Linked DNA regions of Homo sapiens: all the other regions are linked to region 2. Evidence: promoter capture Hi-C in 16 types of primary human blood cells and fetal thymus (Javierre and others, 2016). All regions are on one chromosome and are shown on one strand. Each heading gives the region's core, a stretch centred on a gene start or on the middle of the fragment in contact. The rest is flanking DNA. Distances are from core to core; before and after follow the strand shown. Region 1 overlaps ATP2C2 (ATPase secretory pathway Ca2+ transporting 2). Region 2 holds the start of KCNG4 (potassium voltage-gated channel modifier subfamily G member 4). Region 3 overlaps ATP2C2 (ATPase secretory pathway Ca2+ transporting 2). Region 4 overlaps MEAK7 (MTOR associated protein MEAK7).

Evidence for each region. Contacts are between HindIII fragments. The CHiCAGO score rates a contact against its expected background, and 5 or more counts as called.
Region 1: a contact is called between a fragment that was not itself captured here and the fragment with the promoter of KCNG4 in region 2, in 3 of 17 cell types (M2 macrophages, megakaryocytes and M1 macrophages). The highest score is 6.5, in M2 macrophages.
Region 3: a contact is called between a fragment that was not itself captured here and the fragment with the promoter of KCNG4 in region 2, in 2 of 17 cell types (M2 macrophages and M1 macrophages). The highest score is 5.8, in M2 macrophages.
Region 4: a contact is called between a fragment that was not itself captured here and the fragment with the promoter of KCNG4 in region 2, in 3 of 17 cell types (M2 macrophages, M1 macrophages and megakaryocytes). The highest score is 7.6, in M2 macrophages.

Annotation. Positions count from the first base shown.
Region 1 is chr16:84,441,953-84,444,652 of GRCh38, reverse strand. ATP2C2 (ATPase secretory pathway Ca2+ transporting 2) reads right to left here. Exons shown (of 27, transcript NM_014861.4): 15 at 2,054-2,143. Among named protein-coding and RNA genes, the nearest start is that of ATP2C2-AS1, 24 kb to the left of the region's middle. The HindIII fragment of the contact is 8,325 bases long and covers 1-2,700 here.
Region 2 is chr16:84,238,565-84,241,408 of GRCh38, reverse strand. KCNG4 (potassium voltage-gated channel modifier subfamily G member 4) reads left to right here and starts at 1,397. Exons shown (of 3, transcript NM_172347.3): 1 at 1,397-1,739. The HindIII fragment of the contact is 3,746 bases long and covers 1-2,074 here.
Region 3 is chr16:84,411,827-84,414,526 of GRCh38, reverse strand. All of the region lies in intron 6 of ATP2C2 (ATPase secretory pathway Ca2+ transporting 2), which reads right to left. Among named protein-coding and RNA genes, the nearest start is that of ATP2C2, 45 kb to the right of the region's middle. The HindIII fragment of the contact is 955 bases long and covers 941-1,895 here.
Region 4 is chr16:84,486,376-84,489,075 of GRCh38, reverse strand. MEAK7 (MTOR associated protein MEAK7) reads left to right here. Exons shown (of 8, transcript NM_020947.4): 5 at 2,017-2,445. Among named protein-coding and RNA genes, the nearest start is that of MEAK7, 17 kb to the left of the region's middle. The HindIII fragment of the contact is 2,956 bases long and covers 1-2,700 here.

The sequences.
Region 1 (2,700 bases), core at 168-2,667, 200 kb before region 2:
CCAGGCGGTCAGGCCGGCACCTTCCCTTCTGGGCGGCGAGGAGTTGTTGAATGGGGCAGACTCAGCACTATTTTAAAACGGGAAATGAGCTCCATTCACTATTACAGACATTGCAGAGAGAATTCTCTTCTGTGAATGGAAGAAAAATAATACGATGTCATGATTTCTGTTTGTTTTTTTGAGACGGAGTCTTGCTCTGTCACCCAGGCTGGAGTGCAATGGTACGATCTCGGCTCACTGTAACCTCCGCCTCCTGGGTTCAAGCAATTCTCCTGCCTCAGCCTCCCGAGTAGCTGGGATTACAGGTGTGCACCACCATGCCCAGCTAATTTTTATATTTTTAGTAGAGATGAGGTTTCACCATGTTGGCCAGGCTGGTCTTGAACTCCTGACCTCAGGTGATCCACCTGCCTCGGTCTCCCAAAGTGTTGCGATTACAGGTGTGAGCCACTGTGCCCAATCTTTTTGTTTTTTTTTTTTTTTTTTTTTTGAGGCAGGATCTCTCTCATCTAGACTGGAGTGCAGTGGTGTGATCATAGCTCATTGCAGCCTCAGACTCCTGGGCTCAAGGGATCCTCCTGCCTCAGCCTCCTGAGTAGCTGGGACCACAGGCATGCACCACCATGCCCAGCTAATTTTTATATTTTTTGTAGAGATGGGTTTTCGCTATGTTGCCCAGGCTGGTCTCAAACTCTTGGCCTCAAATGATCCTCCCGCCTTAGCCTCTTAAAGTGCTGGGATTTGAGCCACTGCACTCAGCCTGTAATGACTTTCCAATGTTCTTACACTGGGGAAAAGCACCTGATCTACCAACACGGGGGCTTATGAGAGGGCGACCACCTCTCCCCCGCCCAGCACCAGCTTTGGGAAGGCAGTGGTGTGGGAGGTTGGAGTCTTGCACTGGAGGGAGGGACAGGTAAGCTGATAACAGAAGGCAGTGAAGTGAGCCCTGGTGCTCAGTGATGGGACAGGTAAGCTGAAAATACAAGGCAGTGAAGTGAGCCCGGGATGAGGAGAGGTGTCTGCTGGGGTGGAAACTGGAGTGAACTTGAAGAGAAAGTCGGCACTCGCCAGTGAGAACAGGCAGGAGTGGTCAAAGTCCAGGAGGAAGCAGGAAGGGAGGGTGAGTGCAGGGGCCAGGCTCGGCGGCAGCGAGGGGTCCGTGCTGGGGGATGAGCACCCTGAGTCGGGCTTTTCCCTTGACCTTGATGGAGAGGGTTCTGATCACACCCGAGTCAGAGACAAGTCACACAGCAGAAAGCACGGAGCGGGTCGGGGAAAGGAGCTCCCACAGTGTCCAGGGGAGCCCCAGCTCTGGCTGAAGAGGAGGGACCCAGGCCAAGTGGCCATGGAAACAGACGTGGGAGCTGACCGGGGCCACCTTCTTCCTTCCTTTGCTCCCTCCTCTTAACCTCTGCCGGCCCCTCCTTTCCCATGTCCTTTGTCCTCTCTTCTCCTTGCTTTCCTGTCACCTGCATTCCCAGCCCATGTTTTCTGCCTCTCCTTCTTCTAACTTGTCCTCTGAGCACAGAATGCAGCAGGCCCCCATCAGCTCCCACCCATCCCCTCCACACTGCAAGCAGCCACTTGGTACCTGGTGCTGGGTACAGAATGGCCTGGGGCAACCCTGCACAGCCACAGAGCTCAGGGTCTAACACTGAACCCCGGAGTCAATCGAATACATTCCCAGGAACCAGCCCCTCCCAGTGGTGCCTCGGTGAGCACAGGGTCGTGTTGGGTGCATAGGGAGTCTCGTTCCACTGTCTGTCGCCTCAACACCTGACCAGGGCCTGAACCACAGGGAAGCTCATAGGATTCTTTTGGAATCGCTGGTGGAGGGATTAGAGACCTGCAGAACTTGCTGAAGTCCCGTGGAATCTCAGAGCTCACCTCCTCCACCACCAACAGATGGCCCAAGGCCAGTGTGGGCCATTTTCTTCCATGATTACCTAACGTCCCCACTCCTGTTAGCTCAGACAGGAGCTGGCTTTCTACCAATGAATCCAGCCCCGAGCGAAAGAATTCCCCGCAGAGCCACCCCAGGACCTCCTACCTTCATCGCCAGGGCCATCAATGCACCCTCGGTGGGCTGCCCCATCACGGCGTTCTTTCTGATGACCGCATTGTTGGCAACACAGCCCGCCTAAAAGGGGATTGTCCGGACATCTGTAGTTAGTACTGGGCTCATGAAAAAGTTAGACATTGTGGGCCTGTCCCATTTTTACAGCTGGGGTTGTGGGGACAAGACTTGCTCTTTAAAACAACTCAGCGTCCCGGCTTTTTAAAAGAAACATCGTGACTATTTCTTGGCTGTGCTGAATGTTGGTTCCCATAAAGTTATCATGAGGGAACCCAGCAGGGAGGCAGGTGCACGGGTGGTGACGAGTGTGGGGTAACGGGGAGCGACCGATAATGGGGATGATGGCATTTCCACTTGGGGTGACAAAGTATTCTAGACAGTGGTGAAGTTTGCACAACTTGTGAACAAATTGAAACCACTGAATTGTGCACTTTAACGGGGTGAATTCATGGTAGATGACTTCTACCTCAATTTATACATAAATATTTAAAAAATGAAAAAGAGACAAGCAAAAAGAGTGGGATTCCCAGCGCTCTTCCTTCCCGGCCTGGTGAGCCTGGACACTCGCATTACTTCTCTGCCCATTTCTTTTCTTTTCTTTTTTATTATTACTAGTTTTG
Region 2 (2,844 bases), core at 148-2,647:
GCTTGGATTCGTTCCCATTGCCAAGGCCACAGAGAGCCCACCTAGGTCAGCAGCACCTGTCATCCCCTTGCAGGCAGCTGTGGAAGGCTCACCCTCTAATCTCCCTCACTCCTGGATCCTCCCATCAAAACTCAAGCGTCTGTTAAGTGATGGTTCTTTTTTTTTTTTTTTTTTTTTGAGACAGAGTCTCACTTTGTCACCCAGGCTGGAGTGTAGTGGCGCGACCTCAGCTCACTGCAACCTCCGCCTCCCGGATTCAAGCAATTCTCCTGCCTCAGCCTCCCGAGTAGCTGGGATTACAGGCACCCGCCACCATGCCCAGCTAATTTTTGTATTTTTAGTAGAGACAGGGTTTCAGTACGTTGGCCAGGCTGGTCTCAAACTCCTGACCTTGTGATCTGCCCGCCTCCGCCTCCAAAGTTCTGGGATGACAGCTGTGAGCCACCACACCCGGCCTAAGTGATGGTTCTAACCAGCAAGATGACCTTGAGCAAGCCTCTTCTCAGGGCCTCAACTATCAAATGCAGTGAAGATAACACATTCAGAAGCCAAGAGCCTGGGCTGCAAAACCTCTTAAGAAAGTGAAGAACAGTCAACGTGTAGTGAGCAACTACAAGATGCTGGTTTTACAATTGCAGCCATCGCTGGTTTCACTGTCCTCATTTGACTGAGAAACCCAAGGCCCAGAGAGGGGAAGTGACTGACCAAGAACACACAGCCAGGCAGTGCAGAGTCCAAGTTCACACCCAGGCCCTGGACTGATGCCTCTTCCTTTTCACCCACCCAACCATCCAACCAGCACAGGAGCTTGCACTTATGGTTCTGACCTTCCCTGAACCCTCTCTCATTCCCATGTTTTAGAGACAAGACAATTGAGGCTCAGAAGCACTAACTCACCTGGCCAAGGTCACCCAGCCTTTCACATAGGAGCCAGGATCCAGGCATGTGTGTGAATTCCAAGCTCGGAGCTCTTCCTATTGCTGTTCTGTAACACAGCCCCCCTGACTCCCACCCAGCGCTCAGAGCCTGGGCTTCTGTCTGAACCTGTCCCAGGCCTGGGCTGCTTAAAAGCAGCAAAAAGTTCCTCCTGCAGCTTCAACTTGAGCCTGTCACCATCATCAGCATACCCCGAGAGACTCTGGGGTGCCTGGGACAGGTAGCTGCAGATGCCTCCGGCCCCAAGTTGCCCTCTGCTCCTCCCGAGTTGTGCTCCTCCATGCCAGAGGAGGGAGGACAGCTCCCCTTGCCTCCTAGGCGGTTGGCAGAGTGGCAGCGGCTGCTGCTTCTTCCTGCTGCTGGCTGATGGAGAGATTATTTCTAAGCCCTTCCCATTCCACACCCCCCCACACTGGCTGTCCCCGTGGGACTTGAAGTGCAGAGTCCGCTGCTCAACCAGGACAGCTGCCCTGGCTCCCTCCCAGCAAGAACCCCCAGACCCTCATCTCTCATAAGGAAAGGGACTTCTGGGTCCTTTAAAAAAAAAAAAAAATCCCACCTCAATCCCCCAGGGCTCTCCTGCAGCTGCTGGAGAGAGAGATGCAGAATGAATGAACTTCTGGTTTCTGGAGGAGGCACGGGAAGAAAGATTGGAAACTGACTCTGCTAGAAACTGCTGTTTTGGGGATTTTTTTCTTCCCCTTCATCTCCACCAGAAACCTGTCCCTTCCCTGGGCACCAAGAGATGGGCTCCCCTTGCCTGGCAGAGAAACAGCTGGAAACTGGCTCCCTGAGACAAGAAGGTGAGTTAAACTGGAGGGGAAGAGTTACTGCTTGCTGTAGGGTGGGCGGGGGCCAGGGGGAAGTTGACGCTGTTAGACATCCTTGGCAAAAGTGCTGGTTTGAGTGAATTCCTTTCCCGTGCTCCAGAAGGAGCTGTTTGCCAGCTGTTTGGAGAGCCGTAGATGGCAAAATTGGGTTTATTCAGTGAATGCAGAAAGGGCAGTTTTCAGGTTCTGGAAGGAGCCCCAGGCTGGGGGACAGAGTGCTGGGTTGGATTCGGATTTGCTGTGTGACCTTGGACAAGTTACTTCCGCTCGCTGGGTCTTGGTTTTTGCACTGGGAAAATGAGGAAGCTTGCAAAGGGCTCCCCAGATTTCAAAATACTCTTCTCTCTGCAGGCTCCTCATCCTCCTCTGGCCATTCCCTGTGAGCAAAGTAATGCATTCAGAGCAACAGAATGTTGTGTAGGGAGCAAGAGTGTGAAATAGGTTACGATTCACTCTCCACTATCCACCGGAATCCAACCGGCTCTGAAATTGAGAGGAACTTTGATTTCCGTTCCACTGCCGAGTTTTTCTCTTGATTGGAGTGGAGTGCATCTGAAAATGTAAGCTTATAGATGCTTTGGAAATGGCTTTGGCTAGAATGAATAGCATAAGAAATGGTTGCAGGATCTGAAGGTGAGAAATATTATGAAAAGGACTTTTTAAATATGTGAAGTGGCTAAATCTAAAACACTCACACTAAGTCAAGCACCTCATATAGGTCTGAAATGGAGACAGCATTAGAGGCCCCGTCATTTTTTTTTGTTTTTTTCTTTTTGAGATGGAGTCTCGCTCTGTTGTCCAGGCTGGAGTGCAATGGCGCAATCTCGGCTTACTGCAGCCTCCGCCTCCCGGGTTCAAGCGATTCTCCTGCCTCAGCCTCCCGAGTAGCTGGGACTACAGGTACATGCCACCTTGCCTAGCTAATTTTTGTATTTTTAGTAGATACAGGGTTTCATTGGCCAGGCTGGTCTCGAACTCCTGACCTCAGATGATCTGCCTGCCTCTGCCTCGCAAAGTGCTGGGATTACAGGCATGAACCACTGCGGCTGGAGGCCCCTTCATTCTGCACATAAAAGCC
Region 3 (2,700 bases), core at 169-2,668, 170 kb before region 2:
TGCTGGGGGCTTGTGGGAAAAGATTTCCTTACTGTACACGCGCGTGCACGCACACACACACACCCTTCTTCTATAGGGCCTTTGCGTGTTTGGCTGTGATGCAAGGAGCTGTGGCAGCCATCTGGGATCATGAGGAGAGCCAGCCAAGAACCAATGCAACCCCAGTGGGCACAAGGTGGCAGGGTAAGGAGGTGAAAGAACCACGCCCTGGGTGCTCTCCTGAATTAACTAACCCCACGGCTCCCACCTCAGATCCCTGGCTATGAGACAATATACTTTTCTTGGCGTTTGTGCAACTGGACTTTCTGTTCCTTGTAGCCAAGAGCACCTGCCAGAGATATACCTGTTGCTCCCTCAGCTCCTCCCATGGCAGGCTCCTCTTCCTCAGGCCTCAGCTTAAATGTCACCTCCTCTCTAAATGTCAGCCTGATCGACAGCTATTTAGGGTTGTCCTCACCCTTCTACCAGTCACTATTACATCTCAGTGGGGTTTTTTATTTGTTTTGGTGGCCTCCAGTATTTTTTGGCTTTTGTGTACCTGGACAATTCCAAGGTCATCTTGTTCTTCACTGGCTTATTATGTACTCCCTTGGTAGGAATGTGAGGTCCCCAAAGGCCGAGGCCTCCCCATTTCTTCCACTTGTATAACCTCAGTGCCCTTTCTCCAGGCATACAGTAGGTGCTCAATAAATATTTGATGCCTGCACCAGGGATGGAGTAACACAGGGAGGGGGTCCCGCACAGCAGGGTTTCCCCTGAGTTGGAAATGGGTCTCAGAGACTCAAAGGGTGGGCTTCACCTCTTCAGCGCTCTTTCAACTCTACTGGGCTGCCCGACACCGCTGCTTTTGTACATAAAACCGTCTTTTAGAAGTGACCTCCCGGGAGACATCAATAATGCACGCTATTCACCTGAAAGGCCAAGACTCGATATTTAAGCTTAAGATCGGATCATCAAATCACATAAATCATTTATGCTTCCGTTTGCTCAGTTAATGATGTCACATGTCTGGATTTCTGACAGCACTGTTCATCCGACCAGCGAGCCCAGACATTTCTACTGCTCCCGCGGCCCTTCTACAATTGACTCACCCTCTGTGATGTGGGTCAATTCTGTATCATCCTCTTCTTGTCCCTATTTGGTCCTTCGTCATTCTCCGCCTTGTATTATACACACACGCCCCTTGAATGCTGACTCTTTGAGACGCGGGACCGTATCTCACTACGGCTTTCTACCCTAGCCCCATGGCTCAGTTGCACAACATGTGCCTGGGATATATACTAAAGCTCTCCCTGAAAATTATCCTTCAGAAAATACGGAGTTGCCGTATGTTTGCCAAATGTTGGAAATGGGTCTTGGAGACTCAGAGGGTGGGCTGAGTTGTTCCCAGACACCCCAGACCATGAGATACTTTTTTTTTTTTTTTTTGAGACAGAGTTTCGCTCTTATCGCACAGGCTGGAGTACAATGGAGCACTCTTGGCTCACTGCAACCTCCATCTCTGGGTTCAGGCAATTCTCCTGCCTCAGCCTCCCAAGTAGCTGGGATTACAGACACCCACCACCATGCCCAGCTAATTTTTTTTTAATTTTTAGTAGAGACAGAGTTTCACCATGTTGGCCAGGCTGGTCTTGAACTCCTGACCTCAGGTGAGCTGCCTACCTCGGCCTCCCAAAGTGCTGGGATTACAGGTGTGAGCCACCGCGCCCGGCTGATCACAGGATACCTTCTATCACTTTGAGCAGCCAGGTATGTTCGGGAAAGACAGATCAGCCTGACAGGACCTCAACCAATGTTAGCAGGGGTGGGGAGAAGACTTTGGCCTTTTTTGAAATCATTTCATTTTCTACTAGGAGAACGAGCTTATGGACCACTGCTATGCTAAAAGTTAAGCTTAGAATGAGCTGTTTTCCCAGACTGAGCAACATAGTGAAACCCCATCTCCACACACACACATACACACACACACACACACACACGCATACACACACAGACACATGCACACACAGACACACACAGACACATATACACACATGCACACATACACATGCACAGACACACACACGGAGACACAGACACACACATGCATACACACACGCACACACATACACAGACACATGCACAGACACACACAGACACATATACACACACGCACACACACATGCACACACGCACGCAGACACACGCATACAGACACACACGCACACACACGTGCAGACATGCTCACACACACACATACGTGCACACACGTACACACATACATACACACACATACACAATCAGGTTTAAAAAATAAAAATGCAAAAAATGCAGTAACTTTTGTAGCAGCTGATACAAAAAAGTAGTCAGGTGTGGTGGCATGGCATGCACCTGTATTCCCAGCTACTTGGGAAAGTAAGGCAGGAGGATCACTTGAGCCCTGGAGGCAGGCACAGGTTGCAGTGAGCCGAGATCCTGCCACTGCACTCTAGCCTAGGCAACAGAGCCAGACCCTGTCTCAACAACAACAACAACAAAAAGAAAAAGAAAGAAAGGAAGAAAGGAAAAGAAAGAAGAGAAAGGAAAGAAAGAAAAGAAAGAAAAGAAAAGAAAGGAAAGAAAGAAAAGAAAAAGGAAAAAGCTGTTTTCCCTCCTGGGCCTGTCAGCTTCCTCCACCAATGGCAGCTGTTCCTAGAAGGGCCCCCGCAGATGTTCTAAGCT
Region 4 (2,700 bases), core at 113-2,612, 250 kb before region 2:
TGATTTAAATAATTTGTCTCTTGTCCCTTTTTCCTCTTAGTCTAGCTAAAGGGTTTTCACATTTTTGTCGGTACTTTTTGAAGAACCAGCTTTTAGTTTCATTAATTTTCTGTTGTCTTTCTAGTTTCTATTTATTTTCCTCTAGCTTTTATTTTCTTCCTTCTGTTTGCTTTAAATTTGTTTGGTCTTCTTTTCCTAGTTTCTTAAGATAGAATACTAGGTTATTGATTCGAGATCTTCTTTTTCAAATAAGCATTTACACTTGCACATTTCCCTTTCAGCACTGCCTTCGCTGCATGCCATAAGTTTTGATAGGTTATGTTTTTATTTTCATTGATCTCAATATTTTCTAATGTCCCTTAGGATTTTTTCATTTGGCCTACTGGCTATGTAACAGTGTGTTATTTAATTTCTCCATGCCTGTGAATTCCTCAAATTGCCTTTTAGTACTGATTTTTGATTATATTTCATTATGTTTAGAGAAGATACTTTGTATTATTTGAATCCTTTAAAATTTGTTGATGCATCATTTATGGCCTATAGTATGGTCACTTCTGGATAATGTTTAAAGCACATTTGAGAAGAATGTGTATTCTGTTGTTGGGTGAGAAGCAGTATATATTTAAATTTAATTGGGATTAAAAAAAAAAACCTTGTGGCAAATCACTTTGCAAAGCAGACTTACTTTATAAATATGTTGCCCTTTTGTTTTAAAGCCAGATTTTAAAGTACAGCTTGAAAATAGGTTATATTTCAGAAGTTAGTTTAGATGAGGTATTTGGAACTTGGAAAGAATTTTACAAGTAAGTATCAGTAATTCGTCTTATGGGTAAACTGTTCATCCATCTAGAATCAGTATGTTTTAAAAGAAGAATCATGAAAATAAAAATTAAAGTTTTCAGTGAAGTAGAAAAGGTAATTCAGACGATTAAAATTATCCTTAAGATTTCAAGTAATATATAGGTAATGAGAAATGAAACTGTTTGAAAAATAAATAGAAATGATAGGAATTTTGAATTATCAGAAGTTGGGAGTACTTTTACATTTCCTGCTTAATAAAATGGGCCTGAGTTACACAAAATATTTCAGCTTAGTCAAATTTTCGCTAGGTTGGGAATTATAATCTCTGTAAATGGGGCCTTTGTGTCAGCAAGAGCTTAAGACGTAAAAGCTCCTCTGTTCCTTGTAATAACCGAGCGGGGCAGGTTCTGGCCTTACCTCCATTTTATACCTGAGGAAACTGAGGCACAGAGGTCCAGACCTTGGCAAGGTCATGCTGTTCCTGAGCTCGGGTTTGAAGCCAGCTGTTCGAGTCCCAGGTGTGTGCTCCCACGCTCTTACTGTCACCTCCACTCTTAGTGGGTGAGGGATGGAAAATAGGGCTCCAAGTGCTGTATGATTAAGCCTGATTAGTGGCGAATGAAACCCGCACTTCCCAGATAAACTGCAGGAGTCCCAGGAAGTGCCCTACCAGCCCCTTGACTGGCTGGGAACATTCCCCTTCCAGTGACCTTGGCAGGACCGACGCCCTTGGATGAGCGGCTCCAGGTGTAGCTCAGGCATTTATTCCAGCCCCATTGCCAGGGCACTGCCATCTCGAGGGGTTCTGAAATGCTGCTTGGAGAGGAGAGAAAAGTGTTGAAGTCGGATTGTTTAGATCAGTGCTGGCCAATAGACAAAGCAAGCCCCATGTGAAATTTTCCCTTTTCTAGGGACCATGTTAAAAGAGTAAAGAGAAACAGGGGAAAACTGATTCTAATAATATGTCCTAAATACAATTTTGAAATGTAATGAATATTTAAAAATTGAGATATTTTACATTCTTTTTTCATACCAAATCTTTGAAATCAAGTGTGCCTTTTACACTGACGGCACCTCTCAATTCACACGAGCCCTGTTTTCTGTGCTCAGTAATTGCATGTGACTCGTGGCTCCCACACTGATCAGTGTGGGTTTAGATAGTAGCTAAATGGTGACATAACAGCCCCACTAATGCTGACCATCCCCTTCCCCTAGATGGCAAGAGACTTCTGGGGCCCCAGTGGCTGGACTATGACTGTGACCGAGCTGTGATCGAGGACTGGGTGTTCAGGGTCCCCCATGTGGCCATATTCCTGAGTGTGGTCATTTGCAAGGGCTTTCTCATCCTGTGCTCGTCTCTTGATCTGACTACCCTGGTCCCTGAGCGTCAAGTGGACCAGGGCAGGGGTTTTGAGAGCATCCTGGATGTCCTCTCTGTCATGTACATCAACGCCCAGCTGCCTCGGGAGCAGCGGCACCGCTGGTGCCTGCTCTTTTCGTCTGAGCTCCATGGACACAGCTTCTCCCAGCTCTGTGGCCACATCACTCACCGGGGACCCTGTGTGGCTGTCCTCGAGGACCATGACAAGCATGTGTTCGGTGGGTTTGCCTCTTGCTCTTGGGAGGTGAAGCCTCAGTTTCAAGGTAAGACTTGGTGTCCTGAACCTTGACGAGTGGCACAGCACGGGCAAAGAGCTCTGGAGAAAGGGAGAGGGTGGGGGTGCTAAATAGGGCTCTCCCATCTTCTCCAAGTGTTTCTCTAGACGCAGTCGGGGCGATAGGAAAATGTGATGCTGCTCTATGGTGTTTATCACATCAGAGTTCTTCAGGACAGGCCGTGTGACCCCCAGTTTTCAGGCGAGGACACGGGCCCAGTTATTACACGGTGCCGGGTCTATG